Regions from separate parts of the Homo sapiens genome. Here all the other regions are linked to region 2. The links are contacts of gene promoters, found by promoter capture Hi-C in blood cells and fetal thymus (Javierre and others, 2016). All regions are on one chromosome and are shown on one strand. Each heading gives the region's core, a stretch centred on a gene start or on the middle of the fragment in contact. The rest is flanking DNA. Distances are from core to core; before and after follow the strand shown.

Evidence for each region. The method cuts DNA at HindIII sites, captures the fragments that hold promoters and counts their contacts. A CHiCAGO score of 5 or more calls a contact.
Region 1: the fragment with the promoter of ICAM4 here is called in contact with the fragment with the promoter of PDE4A in region 2 in 9 of 17 cell types (monocytes, total B cells, activated CD4 T cells and 6 more); the score reaches 8.3 in monocytes.
Region 3: a contact is called between a fragment that was not itself captured here and the fragment with the promoter of PDE4A in region 2, in 1 of 17 cell types (naive B cells). The highest score is 5.2, in naive B cells.
Region 4: a contact is called between the fragment with the promoter of CDKN2D here and the fragment with the promoter of PDE4A in region 2, in 7 of 17 cell types (endothelial precursors, total B cells, total CD8 T cells and 4 more). The highest score is 9.1, in endothelial precursors.

The regions. Positions count from the first base shown.
Region 1 is chr19:10,284,844-10,288,686 of GRCh38, reverse strand. It overlaps ICAM4 (intercellular adhesion molecule 4 (Landsteiner-Wiener blood group)), which reads right to left and starts at 1,732. Exons shown (of 3, transcript NM_001544.5): 1 at 1,281-1,732; 2 at 849-1,151; 3 at 167-701. The coding sequence starts at 1,674. The coding sequence ends at 583. ICAM1 (intercellular adhesion molecule 1) reads right to left here. Exons shown (of 7, transcript NM_000201.3): 6 at 3,659-3,843; 7 at 2,072-3,572. The coding sequence ends at 3,400. It overlaps ICAM4-AS1 (ICAM4 antisense RNA 1), which reads left to right. Exons shown (of 1, transcript NR_186335.1): 1 at 1-2,886. RefSeq lists enhancers at 1,605-1,744, 1,091-2,060, 2,115-2,164. The HindIII fragment of the contact is 2,558 bases long and covers 1-2,087 here.
Region 2 is chr19:10,419,024-10,422,406 of GRCh38, reverse strand. PDE4A (phosphodiesterase 4A) reads right to left here and starts at 1,869. Exons shown (of 15, transcript NM_001111307.2): 1 at 1,323-1,869. The coding sequence starts at 1,642. RefSeq lists enhancers at 827-1,016, 2,197-3,076 and silencers at 1,227-1,276, 1,507-1,976. The HindIII fragment of the contact is 23,098 bases long and covers 1-3,383 here.
Region 3 is chr19:10,594,384-10,597,731 of GRCh38, reverse strand. No RefSeq gene overlaps it. Among named protein-coding and RNA genes, the nearest start is that of AP1M2, 8.7 kb to the right of the region's middle. RefSeq lists an enhancer at 1,900-2,089. The HindIII fragment of the contact is 3,363 bases long and covers 292-3,348 here.
Region 4 is chr19:10,567,150-10,570,935 of GRCh38, reverse strand. CDKN2D (cyclin dependent kinase inhibitor 2D) reads left to right here and starts at 1,957. Exons shown (of 2, transcript NM_001800.4): 1 at 1,957-2,423; 2 at 3,519-3,786. The coding sequence starts at 2,283. RefSeq lists a silencer at 1,691-2,340 and enhancers at 2,621-2,790, 3,230-3,737. The HindIII fragment of the contact is 9,110 bases long and covers 1-3,786 here.

The DNA.
Region 1 (3,843 bases), core at 483-2,982, 130 kb after region 2:
GGGGCTTCGGGACCCCAGGTGGGCCCTGAGTGAGGAAACCTCAGGTGCCCTCAGGGAGACAAGGAACTTGGAGAAAGTGATCGCAAAAACAACAACAACAACAAAAACAAACCAGTTCCTCCGAAGAAGGGCAGTAATGCGGACCCTTAGGTCACAGGACAGAGGCTGGTTAAGGAAGCCTTTATTGATTCCAGAGGGTTCCCCCGCCAATATTTATTTTTATTTTTATTTTATTTTTGGAGACAGGGTCGTGCTCTGTCCCCCAGGCTGGAGTGCAGTGGCACGATCAAGGCTCACTGCAACCTCGACTTTCAGGGCTCAAAGGATCCTCCCAACTCAGCCTCCCGGGTAGCTGGGACCACAGGTGCGGGCCACCACACCAGGCTAATTTGTGTATTTTTTGCATAGACGGGGTCTCACTATGTTGTCCAGGCTGGTCTCGAACTCCTGGGCTCAAGCGATTCTCCTGCCTCGGCCTCCCAAAGTGCTGGGATTACAGGCGTCAGCCACCATGTATGGCCATTTCCCCAGATTGTTTCATATTCCTCTTTTTCTCGCTCAGCCGGCATAGAACATCCCCCTTTACGCCTGGGACTTCATAGCTAGGCACTTGCATAGGTACGCAGCGCCCACAGTGAGGAGGATCCCTACAAGGGCAGCGATGGAACCGGAGGCCAAAGCTGTGGGCGCGGGGCTCCAAGCTGGGAGCAGAAGGCGAGAATTAGGAACGGAACACAGGGAGGTCTGTCGACCCGCGTGGAGCTCACGCTTGGTCTGTGCGCCCTCTCGGGGTCATAACTCTCTCTGCCCCCTTCCTCCTAGTCCCCAGGGTTACAGGGGTGCCTCACCGAGCATCAGTGTAATGGGTGCCGAGCTGTTGCGGACCACCAGGCCGTCGAGATTGAGGCGCGCGTGGCAGATCACGGGCTGCCAGAAGTCGCGGGGTCCAGCAGCAAACTCGTAGGTCAAGGTCACGTTGGCCAGATCCAGGCCGGTGAAGCGCTCCAGGCTTTCGGAATAGATGACCCGGCTTCCATGCCTCAGGGTCACCACCAAGTAGCCCACCGGGAACACCTGCGTCACGTGGCAGCGCAAAGTGTATTTCCTGCCCTTTAAGACCGGAGGCTCCAAAATCACGCTGTGGGGCGGTTCTAAGGCAAGGGGGAGCCTCTGAGTGAGGTCCGCGGGCGCTCCCTATAGAGCGACTGTCAACTACCCTTCCCCCACCTCTTCCAGCCCCCTCCCCTCACCCCAGCCGGGACCGAGCCCCTGTCCCTCACTGTAGGCGGTGATCCTGGAGGTGGCCCAGCGTGTTTTTCCTGCGCAGGTCACGAGGCAGTGCGCGAGGGAGCTCCAGGCCCTCACGTCGAGCAGCTGGTAAGACACCCAACCCGGCCCTCTGAGCGTCTTGCCTTGCCGCAGCGGGGTGCGGAGGCTGGAATTCTGCGGCTGGGGACAGCTGTTGCTGCAATTGAGCTGCACTGACTTCCCCGGCTGCACAGCCACGAACTCCGGGCTCATGCGCACCCAGAAGGGCACTGAGGTCCCGGAGGGCGCGAGAGGGCTACCCTTGGGGCTTTGCGCCCGCTTAGTCCGGCGTCCCAGCGCGCTCCCAACTCCCGGGTAGGCGGCCGCCAAAAAAAACAGCAGCGACAGAGGGAACAGAGACCCCATGGCAAAAAGCCCGGACTAAGGGGCCCCGCGCCAGAGAGCCAGGGCCGGCTCTAGAGATAAGGAGGCCCGCAGCCCCGCCTCCTCGACTCCACCCTGGAGAGGAAGGGGAGGCCCCAACAGAGGGCCCGGGAGTACTGCAAAAAGGGATTCCGCTCCCCAGGTCAAGAATAAGATTCCAGGCCTCATTAGAAACCAAATGTTTTTTTCTGGAGAGGAGTCTTTAGTTTTCACTAGAGACCCAGAAGGTCATAGAAAGTCCGATTTGGACCAGAACCTCAGGGTATGGCCATCAACCCACAATGTTTTCTTGGGGGAGGAAGTGGGAGGATCAGGCTGTGGCTGCTTAGAAAGGACTCCAGCTGGATGTGACACCTCCCCTCAACTCACACAAGGCTGAGGCAGTTGAGAAAGCTTTATTAACTAACACAAAGGAAGTCTGGGCAATGTTGCGAGACCCCGTCTCTGGAAAAAAAAAAAAAATCAAATTTGCCAGGTGTGGTGTTGTGAGCCTATGGTCCCAGCTACTCAGGAGGCTGAGGTGGGAGGATCACTTGAGCCCAAAAGGTCAAGACTGCAGTGAACCATGATTGCACCACTGCACTCCAGCCTGGGTGACAGAGCGAGAGCTTGTCTACACATACACACACACACACACGCGGATGAGGCTTCCAAAGCTGGGAGGGAGTCCTCCAATACCTTGGCCCCCTTCCCCACTGCTTGCAGGACCCTGATCACTGCAGGAAACTGGAGCTGCATAGTGCAAGCTCCCAGTGAAATGCAAACAGGACAAGAGGACAAGGCATAGCTTGGGCATATTCCCTGGGCACTCATGTCCAGACATGACCGCTGAGTGTCATTGTGAACACTGGCAGAAATGTATGTGGGTGGGGAGGTGGCTAACAAAGGTGTCAGTTTTGGGGGGAAGGGAGGAATAAGGCCTCACTGGGTAATCTCTGAACCTGTAACCATTACCAGTCCATATAGTGCTTTTGTGCCGATAGAAAAATCACTCCTTCTGGGGAAAGGCAGGTTGGCCAATGAGAAGTCCCAGCCCCATTTGATCTTTTTGCCAGGCACTCTCCTGCAGTGTACAACCTGTACAACTGTACCTGGTGACCTTGAATGTGATTAGGACTGGGAGCTCCGTGAGGCCAGAGACCTATGTTCATTTAGCCTACATAAAAGACACTCAATAAATAGCTGGTAAAATAACAAATGAATAAATACATATCATCAAGGGTTGGGGTCAGTAGACAGCAGTGCCCAAGCTGGCATCCGTCAGGAAGTGTGGGCCTTTGTGTTTTGATGCTACACATGTCTATGGAGGGCCACTTCTTCTGTAAGTCTGTGGGGCCTCAGCATACCCAATAGGCAGCAAGTTTCAGTATTTCCCAGTTGTATGTCCTCATGGTGGGGCTATGTCTCCCCCACCACTTCCCCTCTCATCAGGCTAGACTTTAACATCCATCAATCATGTCTTGAGTCTTGCTCCTTCCTCTTGGCTTAGTCATGTGACTACAGATCAGATGCGTGGCCTAGTGTTTTAGGTGTGCAGGTACCATGGCCCCAAATGCTGTTGTATCTGACTGAGGACAATGCCCTGTCCTCCGGCGTCCCAGGGCCGGTAGGTGTAGCTGCATGGCATATGTCTTCCACTCTGTTCAGTGTGGCACCACTGCCACCAATATGGGAAGGCCGAGGAAGAGGCCCTGTCCCGGGATAGGTTCAGGGAGGCGTGGCTTGTGTGTTCGGTTTCATGGGGGTCCCTTTTTGGGCCTGTTGTAGTCTGTATTTCTTGATCTTCCGCTGGCGGTTATAGAGGTACGTGCTGAGGCCTGCAGTGCCCATTATGACTGCGGCTGCTACCACAGTGATGATGACAATCTCATACCGGGGGGCTGTGGGGAGGATACAACAGGCGGTGAGGATTGCATTAGGTCCATGGCCCCTGCCCCCACCCAGCTCTGCCCGCCGGCTCACTCACAGAGCACATTCACGGTCACCTTGCGGGTGACCTCCCCTTGAGTGCTCCTGGCCCGACAGAGGTAGGTGCCCTCAAGATCTCGAGTGACAGTCACTGATTCCCCGATGGGCAGTGGGAAAGTGCCATCCTTTAGACACTTGAGCTCGGGCAATGGGTTCCCCCAAGCCTGGCACATTGGAGTCTGC
Region 2 (3,383 bases), core at 620-3,119:
TAGAGGACACCAGTTCTTAGGATACACCAGGCAGAGGGAACACAGACCACATGTCAGAGCACCGACGCTCAGACGTGAGCACCTGGTGAAGACTAACACACAGCCACTGTGTTTCAATCACAGTGTCCAAGGAGCACAGACTGTTCCACGAACTCAATCACATTGTTCCCCAAGTGTAAACACCCCAGTGCCACAATCACTGCATGCCAGAAATGACACTGTCACAATCACATTGTCCCTAGACCACCAACACCATTGCACAATCACTGTCCTAGGAGCAGAAACAGTCACTCTATCCCAATCACTGCATCCCATGAGGCCACAGTCACCCTGTGACAGTCACAGCATTCTTGGAGCACACACAGTCACTGTCGCAAACCCTGTCCCAGAAACACACAGTCACACTACCCTGGAAATACACAGTCACACTGTCACAATTACACTGTCCCTGGAGGACACAGAGTCATCGTGTCACCATCACAAGACCCCAGAAGCTCACACAGAGCACACAACTGAGGTAGCCACAGCTGGTCATACCCGGACAGCTGGAGCAAACGGAGGTCAATCGGAGAATACCCTCAGAGGAGACCAAGCTCAACACACATGCACCCTCACTATGCTGTCACCTCTGCAGTCAGGGACTCCTTCCCTCTGTGCTGGGACTGCGCCCCCCCTCCACTGTTTCCTGCCTCTGAACAGCTACTTAACGCTAACACTCTTGCCCTGAGAGGGGAACTCCAATCTAACGCAAGGCTCCCAAAACAGTGCTCCCCCAAGAGGCACCCTCTGGATTTCTGACCCCAGCTGCTGCAGGAGGAGTCCACTAACATCCCCGCAATAGAGTCCTCCATCCCCTAGAAGGACCCTGAGAGCACCCCACCCTGAAGTAAAGATCCTGGTCCTAGCAGGCACCCCCTTATGGAGTGCTCCAAGAGTACCCCAAACACTGCGAATCTAGCCCTCAGTATAGTGCCCCCAGGAAGGTCCCTCCAAGTGGTTCCCAGCTTAGCAGCTGTTCTGCACTGTCACCAAGAATACAGACCCCTAAGTGTGCAGCCCCCTTCCCCAACCCAGACCTCGTTAACACCACGCGCAGCGTGGCGCCCCCTAAATGGACCCCAGGATGGGCTTCAGCAGGAAGCCTCCCGTAGAGCGCACAACCAGGGGCCAGGTCCCAGACGCCCCCGCAGCCGAATTCCCTCCGCCCCCGCCAGCCAAACCGACCCCACCCGCATCCTAGCGCCCCCTGCGGCCGGCAGCTCGAGTTGCCTCCTCCCTGCGCGCCCATCCGTTCCGCGCGCATCCGCCGCGGGGAGTCTTACCGCCTGCTGCTGCCTCCGCCCGCGCCGCCGCTGCCGGTGCCAGTGCCATGGAAGGACGAGGGCCAGGACATGCGGGTCGTGCGCAGGCCGGGCCGGTCGCTGGTGTCCATGGCATCGGCGCGCTCTATGGGCCGGTGCGGCTGCCGCTCCCGCTCGGCGCGCTCCGCGCTGTCGGAGTAGCCGCGCTGCTGGATACGGATGGGGGTCCGAGGCTGCCGCCACAGGTGCTGCGGGGGAGGCTTCAGGGTGGCCTGGCCCTCCCGGGGCCCGGGCAGTGACAGAGACAGGCTCCTTTCCGAGGGGACGGTCGGGGGTTCCATGGCGCCGGCCCCCACTTGCGCCCCAGGGGGCCCTGGCCCTTCCAACCTACACCCCGCTCAGCTGCGCGCAAGCCAGCGAGCCCAGGGCCCCGCGGGTGCGCCCGGCCGCGGTAGGGCCATGGCGCCCCGGGGACAGACCCGGGGGCGCTGCGGGCCAATCGCCCCCGGGCCGGGCTCTGCAGCTTCCTTTCGGCGCCTGGAGCTCTGCTCAGTGCCCGGCGGCGCTCTCCGCGCTCCGCGCTCCGCGTTCCGCGGCCCGCTCGGCGCCAGCCCCGGCTCCTCCGCCCCGTCCCGCCCCTCCCCGCCCCCCGCCCGCCGCGGCTGTCAGCGCCGCCCCCCTCCTCCTCCGTCCGGGCCAGCGGGGGGCAGCTACCTAAGGAGGGGGGCCCTTCCCGCCCACGCAGATCCCCGCTCCGGGCTGGGAGGGGGCGCTGGAACTCGTCTGTCTTCAAAGCACCCTGCTTGGCCGCGGCGCGCACAGGCACGAAGGAGTTAAACGGTTAATCCGATCTGGAAGCAGACACCGGACTGGTTGCCAGAGTGTCAGTCAGTCGGTCCATCATGGCGAGGGCGGAGTCCGGTGTTGGCGTGTCCTCGCCGCTACCCCTGGCGGGGGGCAGTTTTTGAGGAGTGGTCCTAGTGCCACCGGCGCGGTACCTGCAGCGGGCGGCGGCAGAGTGTGTGGGATCTCCTGTCTGTGCGTCGGAGGATAGTGATGGTGCGGGCCCGGGGCGGGATGTGCGCGCACGTGGCCTCTTCCGAGGGTTGTCTGTGTTTTCAGTGTCGGCTGGAAGTGTGTGTGCGCACGTGGTTGGCTGCTGTTGTCTGCCCGTTTCTCTGGATTTGGCTGTGTGTATAACTGTGTGTGTCTGTGGGTGAAGGATGTGTGCGCACATGTGCTACCTATTTGGAGGATGTGCATCCCTACGTGGTCTTTTTTCAGGTGGCCTGGGGACTGTGAATGTGTTCTCAAGCGCTTGGATGCGTTTGTGGTCGGTGTGTGCTTGCGGAGTTGTGCACGCGATTCGGCCTCTGTCGTCTGACTGTAGTGTCGGAGGACGTCTATGTATGTTAGTGTGTGCGTGTGCGTGAGTGTATGTGTGTGGTCGGCCTGGGGCCTCTGGGGTGTTTCTGGGGTGTGTCCCATTGGTTCCCTTGTGGCTCCAGGAAGACACCCTGTGGCGGATACCGCAGCTGCCGGCCCACCGCTCTATACATCGCTGCCTCTTCTAAAGCGCTTCTGCCAGAGGTAAACTGAGGAAGGTCCCAGGTAGCCGCGGAGCGCACCCCCGTGCCCTTTTCAGGCGAGTAAACAGGCGAGCCTCCTCCCTGCGGCCCCCGCCAGCAGAGCCCCCCTTCCGGCACCTAAATCGGGAGTCGCCGTGACTCACGCTCCCGCCTCCCCCAGCGCCGCGCCGAGCGAGCAAGCAGAGAGCGAGCGGGATCCGAGTGCGCCCCCATCCCCCTCAACCCCCCCAAGGATGGCTGCTGGGCGGGGGGAGTGCACGCGCCCGCGTGTCCCACCGCCCCCCCCCCCCACGCCGATAAGAGCTCGAACGCGAAACTGCTCTGCTGCGGGACCCGGGGACCAGACCCCTGCCCCCGTGCGCCCCCTGTCACGGGCTCCCCAGGGCACGCGATGCCGTTTGCCACCGCCCTCCCCCCGCGCCCTTCTCCTTATTTGAAAAAAAAAAAAAAAAAAAAAAAAGACTGCCGGTCTTCAACCCCCACAGCCACTTTT
Region 3 (3,348 bases), core at 724-3,223, 180 kb before region 2:
ACTTTGGGAGGCCGAGGCGGGCGGATCACCTGAGGTCGGGAGTTCGAGACCAGCCCGACCAACATGGAGAAATCCCGTCTTTACTAAAAATACAAAATTAGCCGAGTGTGGTGGCACATGCATGTAATCCCAGCTACTTGGGAGGCTGAAGCAGGAGAATCACTTGAACCTGGGAGTCAGAGGTTGCAGTGATCCAAGAGTGCACCATTGCACACCAGCCTGGGTGACAGAACGAGACTCGGTCTCAAAAAAAAAAAAAAGGAAAGAAAGAGTGAATGTTTATAGAAAGCTTAGTCAGTGTCAGACAAGGTATTAAATGCTTTATATATTTTTTTAACTCTTTTTCTTTTTTTTGAAATAGAGACCAGGTCTCATTAGCCTCAATCGATCTGCCCATCTTGGCCTCTTGAAGTGCTGGGATTACAAGCATGAGCCACCATGCTGGCCAAGCACCTTTTTTTTTTGAACCAAGGCTGCTGGAGGGCAGTGGCGCGATCTTGGCTCACCCAGTAAAGTGCTCTCTGTGTGTGTATGTGTGTGTGTGTGTGTGTATATAGTTGTTGTTGTTTGTTTTAGTTTTTGAGATGGAGTCTCACTCTGTCGCCAAGCTGGAGTGCAGTGGCGTGATCTCAGCTCACTGCACCATCTGCCTCCCGGGTTCAAGCAATTCTCCTGCCTCAGCCTTCTGAGTAGCTGGGATTACAGCACCCACCACCACGCTCAGCTAGTTTTTTGTATTTTTAGTGAAGAACGGGTTTCACTGTCTTAGCCATGATGGTGTCAATCTCCTGACCTCATGATCCACCGCCTCGGCCTCCCAAAGTGCTGGGATTACAGGCGTGAGACACCGCGTCTGGCCCAAGCACTCTGTATTAAATCATTATAATCATTTTCCAATTGGGGAAAGTGACCCAGAGAGGTGAAGTAATTTACCCACAGTAACATAATGAGCCCGTGGCTCTGCAAGGATCTGAACCCAGGGAGTCCGACTTTACACCCAAGACACACTTCCTTCCCCTTCAACCACATGCTTTCCGGAGTAGCGTCCAGGTCATATTGTTGAGTGATAATAGCAAGTTGTATTTTTTTTTTTTTATTTAAGACAGAGTCTCTCTCTGTCGCCCAGGCTGGAGTGCAGTGGTGCGAGCTCAGCTCACTGAAACCTCCTTCTCTTGGGTTCAAGTGATTTGTGTGCCTCAGCCTCTGGAGTAGCTGGGATTTCAGGTACGCACCACCATGCCCAGCTTAGTCTATATACATATATATATATATATATATAGTTGTTGTTGCTTGTTTGTTTTGTTTTGTTTTGTTTTTGAGACAGATTCTTGTTCTGTCACCCAGGCTCGAGTGCAGTGGCATGATCTCGGCTCACTGCAACCTCTGCCTCCTGGGTTCAAGCAATTCTCCTGCCTCAGCCTCCCGAGTAGCTGGGATTACAGGTGTCCGCCAGCATACCTGGCTAATTTTTTGTATTTTTAGTAGAGACAGGATTTTATCATGTTGGCCAGGCTTGTCTCAAACTCCTGACCTCAGGTGATTCACCTGCCTTAGCCTCCAAAGTGCAGGGATTACAGGCGTGAGCCACCACACCTGGCCAGTTTTTATATTTTTAGTAGAGACAGATTTTTTGCCATGTTGCCCAGGCTGCTCTTGAACTCTTGGCCTCAAGTGCCCCACCCGCCTCTGCCTCCCAAAGTTCTGGGATTACAGGTGAGAGCCACTGTGCCCATCCACAAGTTGTATAGTCTTATATGGTATGGGAGAAAGAGAGAGAAAGAGGGCAACACGCGCACACACACACACACACACACACACACACACAAACACACACACACACCCCCCTGCATGTAACCCAGCTGAAAAAGATCTGAATCAGCCAGTGGTTATGAGAGGGACGAAGATTGGGGTATGGGGGTGTCACAGGGGACTTTTTTTTTCTTTTTCTCTCACATCTCTGCTGGGAGGAACTTTTGCCTTTTCTTTAGTTTTGTTTTCTATTTTGTTTTCTCAGGAACTGGCTCAGCACAGTATTTTCTTAAGATAGGTTCTTGCTTTGTCACCGAGGCTGGAGTGCAGTGGTGCAACCATAGCTCACTGCAGCCTCAATCTTCTGGGCTCCAGTGATCCTCCCACCTCAGACTCCTGAGTAGCTGGGCATGGTGGCTTACACTTGTAATCCCAGCACATTGGGAGGCTGAGATGGGTGGATCACTTGAGGTCAGGAGTTTGAGACCAGCCTAGTCAACATGGCGAAACCCAGTCTCTACCAAAAATACAAAAATTAGCCCAGCGTGGTGGCAGATGCCTGTAATCCCAGCTACTTGGGAGGCTGAGGCAGGAGAATCACTTGAACTAGGAGAAGGAGGAGGTTGCAATTAGCTGAGATTGCGCCACTGCACTCCAGCCCCTGGGCGACAAAGTGAGAATCCGTCTCAAAAAAAAAAGAAAAAAAAGCTGGGCGCGGCGGCTCACGCCTATAATCCCAGCACTTTGGGAGGCTGAGGCAGGCACATCTCCAGGTCAGGAGTTCCAGACCAGCTTGGCCAAGAGACCAGCCTGGCCAATATGGCGAAACCCTGCCTCTACTAAAAATACAAAAATTAGCCGGGTGTGGTGGCAGGCACCTGTAGTCCCAGCTACTCGGGAGGCTGAGGCAGGAGAATGGCATGAACCCGGGAGGCAGAGCTTGCAGGGAGCTGAGATCGTGCCACTGCACTCCAGCCTGGGCAACAGAGCGAGACTCTGTCTCAAAAAAAAATAATAATAAAATAATAAAAGTAAATGAATAAATAAAATATAAAAAAATAAAATTAGCTGGGCGTGGTGGGGGGCGCCTGTAATCCCAGCTACTCAGGAGGCTGAGGCAGGAGAACTGCTTGAACCTAGGAGATGGAGGCTGCAGTGAGCCGAGATTGTGCCACTGCACTCAAGCCTCGGTGACGGTGAGACTCCATCTCAAAATAAATAAAAAAAAGAAAAGAAGAAGAAGAAGGAGGAGGAGGAGAAGGAAAAGGAGAAGAAGAAGAAGAAGAAGAGTGGGTGCCAGGGGTTGGGAGAGGGAGAAGGAGTGTTTCATAGGGAGAAGTTTTCCTTTGGGAAGATGAGAAAGTTCTGGAGATGGATGGTGGTGACGGTTGCATGGCCATTAATGTGCTTAATGCCACCGAACTGTGCACTTCAAAATGGCTAAGGTGGCCAGCTGTGGTGGCACGTGTCTATAGTCTCAGCTACTTGGGAGGCTGAGGTGGGAGGATGGCTTGAGACAGCAGGAGAGGAACTGAAATTCGGGCAGTTAGGGTGTCTGGGACAGCAGGTTCAGGTGGTGTCCTGTGGCAGAGGTCAGCA
Region 4 (3,786 bases), core at 708-3,207, 150 kb before region 2:
ACCTGCTCTCCCCTGCTCTGTACCACACCAGGCACGCTCTCACCTCTGGGCCTTAGCATCTGCTGTGCCTCCCAGCTGGTGTGCTTTTCCCCATATAACCACAAGTCTCCCTCCCTCACCTTTAGGTCTCAAATCAAATGTCACCTCTTCAGGGAGGCCCTCCCTGCCTTTGCGTTTCTTTTTCTTTTCTTTTCTTTTCTTTTTTTTTTTTTTTTGAGACAGAGTCTCACTCTGTTGCCCAGGCTGGAGTACAATGGCGCGATCTCGGCTCCTGCGACCTCCGCCTCCTGGGTTCAAGCGATTCTCCTGTCTCAGCCTCCTGAGTAGCTGGGATTACAGGTGCGTGCCACCAGGCGCAGCTAATTTTTTTTTTTTTTTTTTTTTTTTTGAGACGGAGTCTCGCTGTCGCCCAGGCTGGAGTGCAGTGGCGCAATCTCGGCTCACTGCAGGCTCCGCCCCCTGGGGTTCACGCCATTCTCCTGCCTCAGCCTCCCGAGTAGCTGGGACTACAGGCGCCCGCCACCTCGCCCGGCTAATTTTTTATATTTTTGGTAGAGACGGGGTTTCACCATGTTGGTCAGGCTGGTCTTGAACTCCTGACCTCGTGATCCGCCCACCTCAGCCTCCCAGAGTGCTGGGATTACAGGTGTGAGCCACCGCGCCCGGCTTTTTGCCTTTCCGTTTCAATGGCTCATCTGGTCAGTCCTCTACCACTCTAAAAAGATTTAACTATTGGCGGAGAGCAGGAGCTCACGCCTGTAATCCCAGCACTTTTGGAGGCCAAGGCAGAAGGATCCGTTGAGCCCAGGAATTCGGGACCAGCCTGGGCAACAAAGCAAGAACCCCAACATAAAAAAAAAAATCTGTATTTAAAAGCCAAACACAAATAACAAACAAAAAACACCAGCCTGGGCAACATAGTGAAACCTCATATCTACTAAAAACACAAATTAGCCGGGCGTGGTGGTGCGCCCTGTAGTCCCAGCTACTCGGGAGGCTGAGGCAGGAGGATCACTTGAGCCCGGGAAGTCGAGGCTGCAGTGAGCTGTGATCGCGCCACTGCACGCCGGCCCGGGTGACAGGAGTGAGACCCTGACTCAAAAATAAATACATATATAAATAAAAATTAACTATTGTCTCTGGCCCCAGACCATAGGTGTCCCTGCAGCAGGGGCCGACTGGCGTGCTCTCCACTCGGGCCCCTCTAGGAGGTGCTAAGTAAATATTTGAACGAAGACCTCTGAGTCCCTGTCTGGCTGCGACTATGTCCTCTCAGGCCTTCCCACGTGGCAGCTGCAGGCTCCTTTCCTGCTGGCTCAGTCTGAGCCCGGCAGGGTGATCCCTTCCTCATCCACTCCGTCTCTCCGTTTCCCTTTCTTCACGGTGCTTGACACTATCTAATATTATTTGGTTGTTTGAATGTGCGCGTCCAGCTCCCAGGACGCTCCCTGCACACAGTGAATGAATAAATGAATGAAATAAAGCGCCCAGCTCGTAGTAAGGGCCAATGAATGTCTATTAGTAGTGGAACCTCGGATTGGGTGGCTCCAGCCCTGCCTCCCTTCCCTCAGGAGGCGCCGAGGTCCCAGAGCAGCCCGCGCGACCCTGCCCCTGACCTTTCTCCCTGGGTCAGTTAAACCAGCCTTCTTTCCCGCCTGCCGGGTTCATTTGAAAACCGAAAACCCCGCCATTGCCGGCGGTCCACCGGTTGCCACACTCTGACCAATCAGGAGCGACGCGTTTCACGCCGAGCCCGAAGTTTCCCCGGCGACGCGCAGCCACTGGTTATGCAGGCCCTGTGGGCGGAACGCCGTAAGGTCGCGCGCCGGGCAACGCGGTGCCGCTACACAGTAGCGAGTTTGTAAGAAAACAAATCAGTTGCGTTCGGGGCGTGGCCGGGAGCACGTTGGCTCCGCCCCCTGGCGGCTGCCTCAGCGGCGGCGGCGGCGCAGGCTCAGAGCAGACCCCGCCCGGCGAGGAGGAGGGAGGGTGAGTTAGGGGGAGACCCGGCCCCCAAGGGGCGGGCGCCGGGCAGGGCCCCGCGGGCGGCCGAGGGTTGGGCCCGGCTCCCAGCCCCTCGCCGTCCTCCGGCTGACAGGGGGAGGAGCCCGCCGGGAGGGCCGGGGTCTCGGGCTGGGGAGCCGGGACGGGAGAGCAGCGCAGCCGGGTGCACCGCGGCCGCGCCCCGGGAGGGCTGTTCGGGCCAGCGCCCGCCGGCTGCTCCGCGCTGACAGCGCCGGGCTGGGGCGGGGCGGGGGGCTTTGCAGGCCGCCAGTGTCGACATGCTGCTGGAGGAGGTTCGCGCCGGCGACCGGCTGAGTGGGGCGGCGGCCCGGGGCGACGTGCAGGAGGTGCGCCGCCTTCTGCACCGGGAGCTGGTGCATCCCGACGCCCTCAACCGCTTCGGCAAGACGGCGCTGCAGGTGAGGCCGGGCCGGTCCAGGTTGGGGCGGGGCGGCTAAGCGGGATGAGGATCGAGACCCCAGAGCTCCTCTCTGGTCTCCTGGCCCTGGTGGTGACCCACTGGGAACCGGTCCTTCTTCTCTAGGCTTTCATTGTTCCCCCACAGTCCCCCTTCGAAGGTGGGTGGTGGGTGAGGCTAGGTTGTGGGGGGAGGGGAGAGCTTTTTAGCATCTTCTCTGGGAGGATTCCTGGTTCTCTGAGTGCCGGGGATTCACTTTCCCTGGGGAGGTTCTTATTCCGTGGGTGCGGGTTCAGCTCCTTTGGATGCCGTTTCCATGGGGACGGCTCACGTTTCTTGGGGCTTCTATGGGGAGATCCGATCTCTGGAAGGAGAGGTCCTGTCTCTAGGGGTTCCTCATTTTGTAGGGGGCTCTCTGAGACAAATCTGGTTACTTGGGGGTGGGGTCTTCATTCCTAAAGGTTATGCGGATCCTTGATATAGTATGGGGGCCCCAATGGAGGAACAATGTCAGATTGCAAGACATCCCTATATTCCCTGGGAGACATTTTACAGGGAAGTCTCGTTTCTCTTTTATTATTACTTTTGGAATCCCGCTTCTTGAAAGGAGCTCTCAGGTACTCTGAGGTGACATCACCATTATGTAGGAGGAGGCTATTTCCTGGAGAAGGGGTTCGCTTTCCTTTGACATCTTTTTTCCCTTATGAGGACTATCAATTCTTTGGGGGTAGTTCTCCATCTCTGGGGGCCCATTTCCTGGAGGGGATTTTCTGTTTCCTGGTGATTGCCCATATCTGGGGGCGTCTTTGGTCCCTTGGGGGAGAGTCTTAGGTTCCTTGAAAGTTTCCATGGGGGGCTGTTCTCTGGGTTGGGGGGTCTCATTCTTAAGGGAGTGACCAGCTTTTGGGGGGGGTCCCTATTCCCAGAAGAACTTTCCTGGGGGCTTATGCAGCTTCTCCGTTCACTAGAGGACCCCTCCTCTAGCATTTCCTGTTTCTGGGAGATGCCTCTTTCTGGATGACCCTTCTCTTTCCAGTGACCCCTTTTGTGGAACCTCCTCCCTTGAGGACCTCCTGATCCTCTGTCCCTCACACAGGTCATGATGTTTGGCAGCACCGCCATCGCCCTGGAGCTGCTGAAGCAAGGTGCCAGCCCCAATGTCCAGGACACCTCCGGTACCAGTCCAGTCCATGACGCAGCCCGCACTGGATTCCTGGACACCCTGAAGGTCCTAGTGGAGCACGGGGCTGATGTCAACGTGCCTGATGGCACCGGGGCACTTCCAATCCATCTGGCAGTTCAAGAGGGTCACACTGCTGTGGTCAGCTTTCTGGCAGCTGAATCTGATCTCCATCGCAGGGACG